2 separate regions of the Homo sapiens genome follow, and region 2 is linked to region 1. The links are contacts of gene promoters, found by promoter capture Hi-C in blood cells and fetal thymus (Javierre and others, 2016). All regions are on one chromosome and are shown on one strand. Each heading gives the region's core, a stretch centred on a gene start or on the middle of the fragment in contact. The rest is flanking DNA. Distances are from core to core; before and after follow the strand shown.

What was found. The method cuts DNA at HindIII sites, captures the fragments that hold promoters and counts their contacts. A CHiCAGO score of 5 or more calls a contact.
Region 2: a fragment that was not itself captured here is called in contact with the fragment with the promoter of TSFM in region 1 in 3 of 17 cell types (naive B cells, total B cells and naive CD4 T cells); the score reaches 6.6 in naive B cells.

The regions. Positions count from the first base shown.
Region 1 is chr12:57,778,214-57,784,894 of GRCh38, reverse strand. TSFM (Ts translation elongation factor, mitochondrial) reads right to left here and starts at 2,108. Exons shown (of 6, transcript NM_005726.6): 1 at 2,037-2,108; 2 at 1,612-1,785. The coding sequence starts at 2,093. It overlaps EEF1AKMT3 (EEF1A lysine methyltransferase 3), which reads right to left. Exons shown (of 3, transcript NM_015433.3): 3 at 2,354-4,640. The coding sequence ends at 4,249. RefSeq lists enhancers at 2,055-2,124, 1,478-2,347. The HindIII fragment of the contact is 6,425 bases long and covers 1-4,977 here.
Region 2 is chr12:57,575,847-57,582,106 of GRCh38, reverse strand. KIF5A (kinesin family member 5A) reads right to left here. Exons shown (of 29, transcript NM_004984.4): 18 at 5,956-6,020; 19 at 5,729-5,838; 20 at 5,245-5,346; 21 at 4,334-4,394; 22 at 4,027-4,098; 23 at 3,765-3,869; 24 at 935-1,151; 25 at 539-692; 26 at 155-237. Among named protein-coding and RNA genes, the nearest start is that of PIP4K2C, 12 kb to the left of the region's middle. The HindIII fragment of the contact is 6,349 bases long and covers 1-5,314 here.

The DNA.
Region 1 (6,681 bases), core at 859-3,358:
TTGTTTTTTTTTTTGAGACAGAGTTTCACTCTTATTGCCCAGGCTGGAGTGCAATGGCACGATCTCGGCTCACCACAACCTCCGCCTTTTGGGTTCAAGAGATTATCCTACCTCAGCCTCCCGAGTAGCTGGGATTACAGGCCCTTGCCACCACACCAGGCTAATTTTATTTTTTTTTAGTAGAGACGAGGTTTCTCCGTGTGGGTCAGGCTAGTCTCGAACTCGCAACCTCAGGTGATCCGCTTGCCTCAGCCTCCCAAAGTTCTGAGATTACAGGCATGAGCCACCACGCCCAGCCAAAAAAAGTTTAAAATTTTAAAAACAGAAAAAAGCTCACAGAAAAAGTGCATAAAGAAAAATATTTTGGTACAGCTGTACAATATGTGTTTTATGCTGTTATTACAAAAGAGTCCAAAAATTTAAAACATGTTAAAAGTTTATAAAATAAAAATGTTACATTAAACTAAGGTTAACTTATTATCACAGAAAAAAATTTCTTATAAATGTAATGTAGCTTATGTGTACTGTGCTTTAACGTCTACTATAGTGCACCATAGTGTCCTAAGGCAGGCCTTCATATTCACTCACCACTCACTGACTCACCCAGAGCAACTTCCAGTCCTGCAAGCTCCATACATGATAAGTTCCCTATGGAGATGTATCGTTTTTTATCTTTTATGCCTATTTACTGTACTTTTTCTATGTTTAGATACACAATACTTACCACTGTGTTACAACTGCCTACAGTATTCAGTCCAGTAACATTTTGTAACGGTTTGTAGCCTAGGAGCAGCTGGCAATTCCATATAGCCCAGGTTGTAGTACAATATACCATCTAGGTTTGTGTAGGTACTCTATGATGTGCATAAGCCAAAATCTCCTAACGACGCCATTTCTCAGAATGTATCTTCCTATTAAGAGACGCATGACCGTACAGGCAAAAACTACACAACTCTGAAAGATTAAGATGTCTAAAGTCAGCCGGGCGCGGTGGCTCACTCCTGTAATCCCACCACTCTGGGAAGCCGAGGCGGGCGGATCACCTGAGGCCAGGAGTTCGAGACCAGCCTGGCCGACACGGCGAAACCCCATCTCTACTAAAAATACAAAAAAAAATAAAAAATAAAAAATAAAATAGCCGGGTGTCGTGGCGCACGCCTGTAATCCCAACTACTCAGGAGGCTGAGGCAGGAGAATCGCTTGAACCCGGGAGGCGGAGGTTGCAGTGAGCCAACATCGTGCCATTGCACGCCGGCCTGGGCCACAGAGCAAGACTCCGTCTGAAAAAAAAAAAAAAAGTCTAAAGTCAGACAGTGTGGGGGCCCCACAATTTGACTCCTGAACAATCTGACTCCAAAGCTCACACAAACCCTTTCAGCTCCAGGCAACAAGAAACACCGTAACAGTCTGGTTTGTTAATCCTGGGATACTCAACTGCTTTCAAATAAGACAAAGTCAAGGCCAAGGTTGTCATTTAAGCCAGATTTCCACTTAGGACTGTGCCATTATGGTCACTGAAGAGCAGTCTAACTTTATGCTCCCCAGCGTGACCGCCCCAAGAGTCTGAGGTCGAGCTCTAGTACTCCGCCCTGCACCCCTCCACACACACACCTGTTTGAGGTCCCCGCCACAAGTCTCCAGAGCTTTCTTGCAATTTACAAAGGAGTAGCCTGTTTTCCGCCGCAGCTTCATGAGGAGCTCCTTGCTGGAGGCCGAGGCAGACAGACGGGGCCCAGCATAAAATGTGTGCCTTGGCTGGGGCGACTGACGCAGAAGAGACCCAGCCTAGATGAGATAAGAAAGGGATGAGGAGCAGGAAGCAGCAAACTCCAGAGGGTGAAGGGTACACGGGCAGGGAAGCGACCTTAGGGAGCGGACAGTGTGCAAAGGGGGGTGCACCGGGGCTGGACTGGGCAGAGGCAATGCTGTCGGGGAAGGTGAGATGGAGTCAAACGAGGTTGGGAGGAAGGGAAAGGTACAGGCGCACAGGAGAGCTGCAGGGACAGCAGGTCGGTACCAGCACCAGGACTTCTCACCGGGTAGCTCCCGGTCCGCGCGACCAGAAACACGCGCAGCGACCGCAGCAGCGACATCTCTCTAGCCGCGATAAACACCCTCCGGCGGGCGCACTGGTGAGGCAACAAACCTACGGCGCGGCGGAAGGGCCAGAATTCTCCAGCGGAACGCACCAAACGAGTATGGTGCCACCTGCTGGCCGGAGGAACACAGTCCTCGCCTCTACTTGATTTCTTGAGACGACACATTTCATACGGGAATTACCCCCCACCTCCCACCCCAGGTAAAATAACAGAAACCAAGAAATAAAGTCGTCACAAAACAACAACACAAGAAATGTGGGTAACATTTTATGTTTATTTTCAATGCGCATTTATATTCATTATCCATTTATGACTCACAACAAACTTGTGTGGTTGGTGAATGGGTTCGAGAATTTGTCCAAGGTCACCTAGGAAGGCAGGGGTGGAATCCATTAAACAAAGCGAGTAAATATTTATTGAATGAGCACAATATCTGTTGAACACCTGTTGTGTGCCAGGAACTGTGTTAGGCTTCAGGGGTTTAGACAGGAGTAAACCACAGCCCTACCCTCCAAGGTAATTTAATGGTGAGAAAATGAGAATCACAAATGTCCATGCAAGACAAATTAAGGTCCCATAAGATGAACCTTATGGGTCTCAGGGAGAAAGAAATCACATTCAAGCAAGAGGCTCAGGAAAGAGGCAAAGAATAATGAAGATTTTGACAGGTGGCAATAGCCTTTCAGGCAGAGGATTATCATAAAGAGTGTGAAAGAAGTCAGAAAACTTTAGTGTGGTTTTAGAGAACAAAGAGTACATCTTTTGTAATTTGGCCAGAGGTCCAATACACGTAGCAAAGGAGTAGGAAATGCAATAGGAAGGTAATTTTGGATCACATGGACACAGACTAAGTACCAAGCAGAGGAGCTTGTTCTTGCTTCTACAGGAAGTGAAAGCTAATCAGAGCTAATTTTGGAAGATCACAAGAGTTTGCGGAATGGACTGAAGGAGAAAGCATGGAAGCAGGGAGTCCAGAGAAGGTGACTATGTGCCTAAGCAGTAAGTAAAGAGAGCCCCAACCAGAAGTACCAATGTGGGAAGAGAAAAGAGGTTAAGGCAAAACACATTAGGAACTGTGTTAGGCTTCAGGGGATTAGAGATTAGGAAGGAAGGACTGATGAAGCTAAAGAAAAATCAAAGATGAAAAGAACTTAGTACTAGGTACAGTATTCTTCTGCACACAATGATGTTCCGTGATCAAGGCTCTAACTCTGGAAAGCATGAAGAAATACAGTCCAAAGGACAGCTCTGCAGCCTTAGCTTCAGAGCTAGGAGGACTTGACCCAGTTAGAGCCATGGTTCCACTAGACTCTATCTCTAAAAAGCAGGAAATGGGTGGTTTGAGGCTTCTTCCTTCTCAGCTCCTGAGTAAAAGTTGGGTTCTTGCACAATAGATTTTTAAGGCTTAATTCTTTCTTAAAAAAAAAAAAAAATCCTAGGCTAGCACAGTGGGCCATGCCTGCAATCCCAGCACTTTGGGAGGCAAGGCGGGTGGATCACTTGAGCCCAGGAGTTTGAGACCACCCTGGGCAACATGGCGAAACCCTGTCTCTACTGAAAATACAAAAATTAGCCGGGTGTGGTGGCGCATGCCTCTAGTCCCAGCTACTTGGGGAGCTGAGGCAGGAAGATCATCTGGGCCTTCAGAGGTTGAGGCTGCAGTGAGCTGTGATCACACCACTGCACTCCAGCCTGGATGACAGAGTGAGACCCTGTCTCAAAAAAAAAGAAAAAAAGAAAAAAAAATCCCACAGAATTTTTTTAAAGTCCATTCTGTGTAAACAGCAACAGGAATGGAAGTGATCAGTGACAGTCTGTCTACAATCACTGCTCTCACATCCCATATATCTCCCTTACCCCCTAAAAATCCTGGATACCTTACCATCCTCCTTCTCTGAGAACAGGAGCCAGGAACCTCCTTGGTGTTCTAACACTAGTGCTGCCAGAACTCTGGGATTCCTTGTAAGCAGGCACCTCACTGCACCTGCCCAAGAGTATCTGGGGTAACAAAGAGGGAAGGAGGAAAGTGAGAGAGGCCAGGGAAATCCATCCTTTTTGGTCCTCATGTTTGTGGCTCTGGAAATATGGTTTTTGAGATACACAGTTCCTTCATTAGAGCAAGAGATTGAGAAGAACAGCAAGGGTGATGTCAAGCAGGTCTTGGTTCCCTGTGCCTGGCCCTATAGATGTTGACATTTTCATCCTCATCCCGCTGAGCCAGCTCCAGTTGGAAATGCTGGGGCAGGAGGTGCTGAAAGAAGCTCTCTGTCCCATGCTCCTTTCTCATCTTGGAGGCCAGATAGATGGTGCCATGGGGCCTGCACAGGTGTTGGAGGGTCCCCAGCAGCAGAGGGAAGGTGGGTTCCAGGTACACGATATCAGCCCCCAGCACCAGGTCATAGTTTGCAGGGAAGACATGATGGTCAATCCCCCAGGACAAGGCACGCACCTGGGCCTGGCCTCCAGCTGGCACATTGGCCTGGACGTTGCCCTGGATCTGTTCTAGGGCCAGGGGCAGGTCAGTGATGGTAACATCCCCCCCTGAGAGAGAGGAAGGAGGAAAAATGCAAGTCAGAGGAACCAACCAAGGGTTCTTGGCTCCTGCCTGGAAGGTCCAGAGACCTCAGAGCATAGAGGACAATGTCTTGACAGCCCAGAGCCCACACTGGCTTTTAGTTGCCTCAACCTCCATTTCACCCACTGCTATTCTCATTACTCTACATTCTACAACATCAACATTCTCTCTGAGCTAATCTTCAACCTCTCTGGCCAACACACAACAATCAGATGTCAGCAGAAGCCTGGGCAGGACTAAGCTGGAGATGGGTTCTGTACCCACCCCCACTGACACAAGCTCGCCTTAAGGGTCTGGAAAGCTTCCCAGAAAATGTGACCTCAGCTGAGCCCTAAAGGACAAGTAGGAGTTAGTCAGGTGGAGCTTTCCAAGAAGAGAACAGTGAGTACAAAGGCCTGGGAGTGAAAGAGCATGGCATATTCAGGAAAGGCTGCATCTTAGAGGATGTGGAAGGGGGAGAAAAGTGTCAAGACATGAGACAAAGGGAAAGTGATTATGACATGCTAAGAAGATTCAGGTTCGATACTGAGGGCAGTAAGCTTTAAGGGCAGAAACGGGTGAAGATGGTCAGATTAGCATCTCAGAAACCTTCATTCATGCAGTAGATATAATTTGGAGAACCTTCTAAGTGCTGGGTATATAAGGTGAGCAAGACAAAAACACAGCTTTCTTTGTTTCATTCTAGAGGTAGAGACACACTAGGTACTGCATCATAATCATGATGACTATGATAGAAAGAGAAGCAAGAAGTACTAGGAATCCATTCATTCATTCATATTTATTATGTGCCTATATGCCAAGTGCTGAGAACATAATGATGAACTAAGAAGATAAGAATCCCCCCTCACAGAGCTTATGGTCCAGTGGCAAGAAACAGATGATAACAACAAACAAAATAAATAAAATAAAATACACTGTACATCAGATGGTAATATATGCCATGGTGAAGCCCCAAGCAGGGAAGGGGGATAAGAATTGCTTGAGGGATGGGGAGAAATGCAAGTTAGAGGGACCAACCAAGGGTTCTCGGCTCCTACCTGGAAGGTCCAGAGACCCCAGGGCATAGAGGACAAAGTCTTGGCAGCCTGAATGTAATTTTAAATTGAGTGGCTGGAGAATGAAATTTTAAATTGAGTGGTCAGACCAGCCTGACCAAAATGGTGAAACCCCATATCTACTAAAAATACAAAAAAATTAGCTGGGTGTGGTGGCGGGCGCCTGTAATGCCAGCTACTAGGGAGGCTGAGGCAGGAGAATCGCTTGAACCTGGGAGGCGAAGGTTGCAATGAGCCGAGATTGTGCCATTGCACTCCGACCTGGGCAACAAGTGCAAGACTCTGTCTCAAAAAAAAAAGAATGGCACACGCTGGCATGCTTTAGGAGGAGCATGCTGGCTGCTATGATGAGAAGAGTACAGGAGGGCAAGGTCAGAAGCTAGGAGACCAGTTAGGAGGTGATGGCAATGACTCAGGTGAGAGATGATGATGGTTTAAACCAGGGCAGTAGCAATGGCTAAGAAATGGTCAGATCCTGAATATATTTTGAAGGTAGAGTCAACAGGATTTGCCAATAGATTGGATATAAAATATGAGAGAGAGAGAAAAGCTTGGGATGGGCCAGGCACAGTGGCTCACGCCTGTAATCCCTTTGGATTACACTTTGGGAGGCCAATGCGGGATGACTGCTTGAGTCCAGGAGTTTGAGACCAGTCTGGGCAACATAGCAAAACCTCGTCTCTATAAAAAATACAAAAATTAGCTGGGTGTGGTGGCACATCCTGTAGTCCCAGCTACTCGGGAGGCTGAGGTCAGAGGATTGCTTGAGCCTCGGGAGGTTGAAAGTTCAGGGCTTTAGTGAGCCATGATTGTGCTACTTTCACTCCAGCCTGGGCAACAGAGTGAGAACCTGTCTCAAAAAAAAAAAAAAAGCTCAGGATGGTTTCTGGGTGTTTGGCCTGACCAACTAGAAGACCAAATTGCCACTCATTTAGATGAGAAAGGTTGCAGG
Region 2 (6,260 bases), core at 891-3,390, 200 kb after region 1:
ACACCTGGCTATATGTATTTTTTTTTTTATTTGAAGCCTTGGCACACCAGAAAGGTTCAGTCAGTGTTTTTTGTACACTAAGGTCACTTACTTTTATGCCTCTCAACTTGCCCTGAGGACCCCAAAGGTGGGATTACCCATCTTTTTCACTCACCATTGTCCATGTTGGCCTTCTGGTAGGAAGCCAAGGGGCCGCCAGAAGATGTGGCTCCACTGCTGGTACAGGAGTTTGCAAAGCTGGATGGAGCAGAGGAAAGAGGCAGCCTCTGACACCCACCCTCCACTAGTCTGAGGACCACTAATCCACACTCATCCTCAGTGATAGAGCTGCTCAGCCCTCCCCATCCCCAGAGAGCAGAGGAAAACAAACATGGCCACAGGCTGGGAGGGCAGACACCTACCTTCTAATCATAGGCATGAAGTTGAGAAAGGGTTTAGGAAAATAATTAAGCCACAACCAATAACTGCCCCCACCCTATGCCTTCTAGGGTCCAGGGAGCTTTGGGTGGGACTCCAACCCACACGTGTGGTCACTCACTACATATCTGAGGTGGAGCTGGGTGTGGCCTGCAGGTAGAGATTCTGGTAGTTCTGGAAGAGGCTGTTGGTGTAACTGATGCACTCAGGGCTCCGGGTGCCATAGGGGTTGGTGGGTGAGGATGCTGGGTAGTGGCCAGGCCGGACGGGTTTGGCTGCAATAAAGAAAGAAAACAACCATGAGGAGGCTATGACCCTGCATTTGCCCTGGTCCCTGAGGTCATTTAGCTGGGGTTGAACTGAGTTGCTTGTAACATAATCACTTTTTTACTTTTTGGGGGGAAGTGGGATGAGGCTAGGGGTAGGTAAGAAGCAATAATCTAGTTGCTTGGCAATTAGCAATTTGCTAAATTTGCTTCAGGAGATACTCCCACCTTGCCTGCTAACACCTACTCACCAATCTGGGCAGAATGGCCCCGTTTGCCCGAGCTCTTGTAGCGAACGGCCTCCTTGATGCGGTCCACCTCCTGCTGGTACCGGCGCTTGTCCTTCATGGCGCCCTCCTTGGCCTCCTTCAGTGCACCCTCCAGGGCCTTAACTCTCTCAGCCGTAGCCCTAAGTCGTTTTTCCAATTTAGGAAGCTCACAACGCAGATCTGCATTGTCACGTACCAGCTATGGGGCAAGCCAAAGGGAAGAAGTGGAAAGGAAGGCAAGTGACCCAAGACGGTCACCCAGAGGAGCGTAGGGGACAGGGGTGAGGAGAGAGAATAAAGAAAAATCAGGAGTCAGAGAAGATGGAGACCATGTCATTTCCTCAAAAGGCCTCATTGCCTTTATGTAATGGACTGTTCTGTCCAGCTCATTCCTTCTCCCAGAGCGAAGGGTGGGTGGTCAGGCATTTAAAAGTTATATAATTTTCTAGGCAGTAAAACCTGCCATCTCCACTGCAGCCCAGAACTCTTGTGAGAGCGCCTTGTCCTGTCTCCATCTGGTTTCCCCCACATCTCCCAGCATGTGCCAGATCAATAGCCCCAGGGCGGCCATGGGGATGAGGGACCCGCTTCCCCAGAGAGGGCTTTGTGGGCATGCAAAGGGTGGGGCAGCAAGGGCACAGTAGCAGTTTGGTGGCTGTGGCATTGAGGAGAATCTGTGCATGGCAGGTGCAGTGCAGAGCAGGAGCAGAAGCTGGAATTCAGGAGCCCCTGACATACACATATAGACAGGCAGAGCCCGCCCCGTAGGAAGGAAAGAAAATGTTTGAGGTCTCACAAACATTTGCACTCATTACCTTCACATTCAAGGACTTCCTGGGTTATCCCTCCCCCAGTGAAATTAAGCTAGAGCATGGGAGCAACCACCCTGCAGCCCGAAAAGACTTCCTGATCTTTTTACAGGTTCCACACAATGACTGGGGGCACTATAGGTTGCAAAAGGAGCAGGGCCTTGGAAGACAGCGGGTAAATCAGCATAGCGGGGAACACTGGGGGCTCAAGGGGACAAGCTAGAAACCCTTCCATGCAGTTTCCATTTGGACAATTTATGGAGTATAAGCAATGTTTTGCTGTGACAATACTTTAGCTTAATTGATATAGGGCTATAGTCCTGGCTGTTAAGATTCTCTTAACTGAGAAGTTTTTATCTCCTTTTCCTTTTTACTCTTGTGTCTGCTGAGGTAGGAAATTGTAGTGAGTCCTCTATTTATCCTATAGGTGAGTCATTTTTGTTTTTTTGGGACTTTGAACAGAGGCAGAGGCTTCAGTGACGATAAAGGAAACAGTGTGTGGTTGTGTTTTTTCATGGAAATTTTTCTGGGGCTTGCTCCATAGAGCAGGGCTTTCCCATAGGCAGAGAGGCCCAGAGTAGCACACACATGTGTGTGTGTGTTCTAAGCAACATAATATGGATTTGGACAGAGAGGGAAAGTGAATGCGGGAATGAAAATCGAATGGCAGAATTGATTTCAAATGTTTCCTATCTGCCTTTCAACTTTTCTATAATTTTGTTACTCAGTTTCATAATAAAGGAAATAAAATCGTAGCAAAGCCCTCTGCAGGCCTAAATAAGATAAATAAACTCTGTACATTATCACTGGGCACAGGTTTAGGATTCATTAAGAAAAAAAAAAGTACTGAATATTTACTATATAAGCTGGGCATTATACTGGGAGGAAAAGAAGTTTAAGTGCTAGGCTAGTGAGAATGTAAGTTTAAATGGAATCTTAAGGTAGATTTGAAAGGAAAGGAATGAAGTATAGGTTAGGGTTTATTTTATGAATTAGTTAAAAGGACCAGTTGACAGCCTGCCGAGCCTGTCTTCAAGGCTCAGATATTTAGTGCTAGTGAGAGTGCCCCTACCCAGCATGCACCAAACATTTCCTGTCCTGACTCCTTTGGACTGCCCTTCTGCATCCCCAGCCCATACCTTTGAAACCCAGTCATCCACCTAAAGAACCGCAACAGCAAGGAGGGGGACAGAGAGGCAGCAACTTAATACACAGGAGTTTTGACTGGGGCCCCAACCAGGGGCTGGTTGGGCCATCTTAGGGACATCATTTTTTTTTAATTGAAACAGGGTCTCACTCTGTCACCTAGGCTGGAGTGCAGTGGCATGATCACAGCTCACTGCAGCCTCTACTTCCTGCGCTCAAGCAATTGCCCTACCTCAGCCTCCCAAGTAGCTGGGACTATGGGTGTGTGCCACCACATCCGGCTAATTTTTGTATTTTTTGTAGAGATGGGGTTTCGCCATGTTGCTTAGGCTGGTCTTGAACTCCTGTGCTCAAGTGATCCGCCCGCCTCGGCTTCCTGAAGCGCTGGGACTACAGGCATGCACCACTGTGCCTAGCCAGGGACATCATTTAATGTCCCTGCATGCCTGCCACAGACCTAGACAGATGGAGTTCTCTCCACGAAAGAAGCCCAACTCCCTTGCTTCTTCTCATCTCCCTGCCTTCCATCTCTGGGTAACGTCTGACCAGTCTCCCTCCTGTATAGTTACAGCCCATGCCTCTGTTAGTTTCAACCTCTCCCTCCAAGGTAGGCCTGGGGAATTCCACTTTGAGCAGAGGTGGGTTAGAAACTTTGAGAAGGGAATACAGGCATGAAACAAAGAACAAGGTACAAGTGGACCAAATATGGTATAAAGAAGGGATTAGTAGGGAAAGTAAAAGCGAACAGTAAGGAAAACATGCAACTAGATTTTCCTGAATCCAAGGGGCCTCTGAGGATTTGGTATGCTAGCTACCCGGCCTCAAAAATTCTCTTCACTCCTTCAGCAGACTCTTACCTGTTTGTGAACCTTTGTAAGCTGTTCCAGGTTGTTCTCAAGAAAGGAAATCTTCTGCTTTTGGGAGTGAATCCCCCCACTGTCTTCGGGCTCCATTTCTGCACTCTGAGAACAGATAGAAGGAAAGACGTGGCTGTCCTGAGGCCAAACAGGTCCCACCAAGACCAGGCCAAGCCAGCCCCATAGGGGCAACAGGGGCAGGAGAAACCTAAGGATAGGAGGAGGATGTGGGGGCTGACAAAACCCCAAGGACAGCACTCACTTTCTTGACTCGAGTCGTGACGTCTTGAACGAACAGCTTGCGAAGGTTGTGGAGGGTCTGGAGTTCCCGGGCCTGGAAAGAATGATGAAAAATTGGGAATAGCCAGATACCAGGTCTGTCCTATTCCTCCAGAATTATAGGTACCTCCAGTCTCTATAATCAAGTGAGTCACTTATCCTTTAGGAAAAAATGTGTCTTGATTACGCTACAGAATGGCTGCAAAAGGGCAGGAGGAATAGGGTTAGGAAGAAATGAAGCCTCCCCACTCCCCAGTCCTGTGAATTTGGCACAGAAGGGAACCACTCACAACTGTCTCCTCCAGACCCTTGAGGTCCTGCTTGGACTGCTCATGTCGCTCGTACAGAAATCTGTAGCAAGAGAAATAAGGGAAATGGAAAGATCCCTCAGGACTCTCCTTCCTCCTGCCTCTTCCTCTATTACTTTTATCTCCATTTAAGTATTACTATTATTGTTATTTTGTGAAACAGGGTCTCATTCTGTTACCTAGGCTAGATAGAGTACAGTGGCACAATCAGGGCTCACTGCAGCCTCAACCTCCTGGGCTCAAGGGATCCTTCCCACCTCAGCCTCCCAAGCATCTGGGACCACAGACGTATGCCACCATGCCCAGCTAATTTTTGTATTTTTAGTAGAGACAGGGTTTTGCCATGTTGCCCAGGCTGGTCTCGAACTACTGAGCTCAAGCAGTCCACCTGCTTTGGCCTCCCAAAGTGCTGAGATTATAGGTGTAAGCCATCGCACCCAGCCTATTATTATTTATTACACAAGTTACTCATGTTTACTGTGCAAAAATTAGAAAAGAATTTTAAAGAGAGACATAAGGTGAGTTTTTATAAAAAGCCTATGATTCTACTATTTACAGATCAAACCAACATTAACCTTCTGGTGTCCACCTTTCTAGACTTTTTTCTATGCCTACATATCCATGTATACATTTTTATGGGATCATACCATGCATATGGTTTTGTAACCTGTTTTTACACTGAATAGAACACGTAAACCTCCTTCCATACTGGTGAATACTCAACGGCAGTCTTTGCTGAGAGTGTCCTTTTGGTCCCGTCCCTACCCCATCATATTTTTCCCATGAGTCACCCTATCATGTCTGCATGTGTGTCCTGCCTCTGCAAGCGTGTCTGAGTTCACAGTTCTGAGCCTACAAGGCTGTAGTTTTACAGGTAAATCCATGCCACTCACGTCAGCTCCTGCAGCTTGGTGCTCTTCTCGTGTTCTTCGCTCTTCAGCTTCTCGTAGTCAGCCTGAAGCTTCTCTAGCTCTAACTGGAGCTTCTGATTTAGGCTACAGAGCATCAGAAGGTAATGGAGATGGGGGAGAAAGATGTTAATGAGGGGGAAGGGAAGGCCAGCTCTTCAAACTTCTTCCTTTTTGAACGAGTGAGTCCAGTTAGAATTGATGTGTCCACCTTCAGATACCAGAGGCAGACTCAGGCCACTGTTTCCATGACAGAGCCAGGAACCCTGACCTCTCTAATCCTGGGACCCTCAAGGATAGGGACTAGTCGTTATTCCATGTGTCTCCTGAGGTGGGGCTACGAAGTTGTGGCATTGTTGAGGGAATGACACATGGATGTTAAAGAATCAGACCCAGAGGGGACATGTGAGTCAATACAGCAAGGTGACAGGACCCGGGAGGGGCTGGAGTCGCCCTTGGGAACCCTTACTCTTTGAGCTCATCAATGGTCTTCTGCTTCTCGTTGATCTCGTCCCGGAGCCGGGCCAGCTGCCGGTGATGGGCCTCCCGGTGACTCTCCATCTGCAGCTCCAGAGCCTTCTGCAAACAACCCCACCCCAAGCTCAAAGGCCAGACTCCCAGCAACAAGCTCTGTGAGGGCCAGCACAGCTTTCACCACACCAGGCCCCAATTGTCCCTGACACCTTCCTTACTCACCTTCACTTCATCTGCATCCTGAGTGTCAGGCTCCTTGTCCTTCAGGGCCACTTCATGCACAGTTTCTAAGGGAAAGAGGGGAAGACAGCTGACATCAAACCTACCTCTTTCGGAAAGAACTTCACGTTGTGACCAGAACTCCAGGCAGGGCTGGGAATGGACCCACAGGGATGTTCTTCTGTGTTAGGACTGTCCAATTTGATATAGCAGGAACAGAGAACAAGGGTGTATGGTTAATGTAAAATGAGCTACATGCAAAACCTTGGCTAACATATGAGTTGGCATCCATGATTTCAAGCTAATGC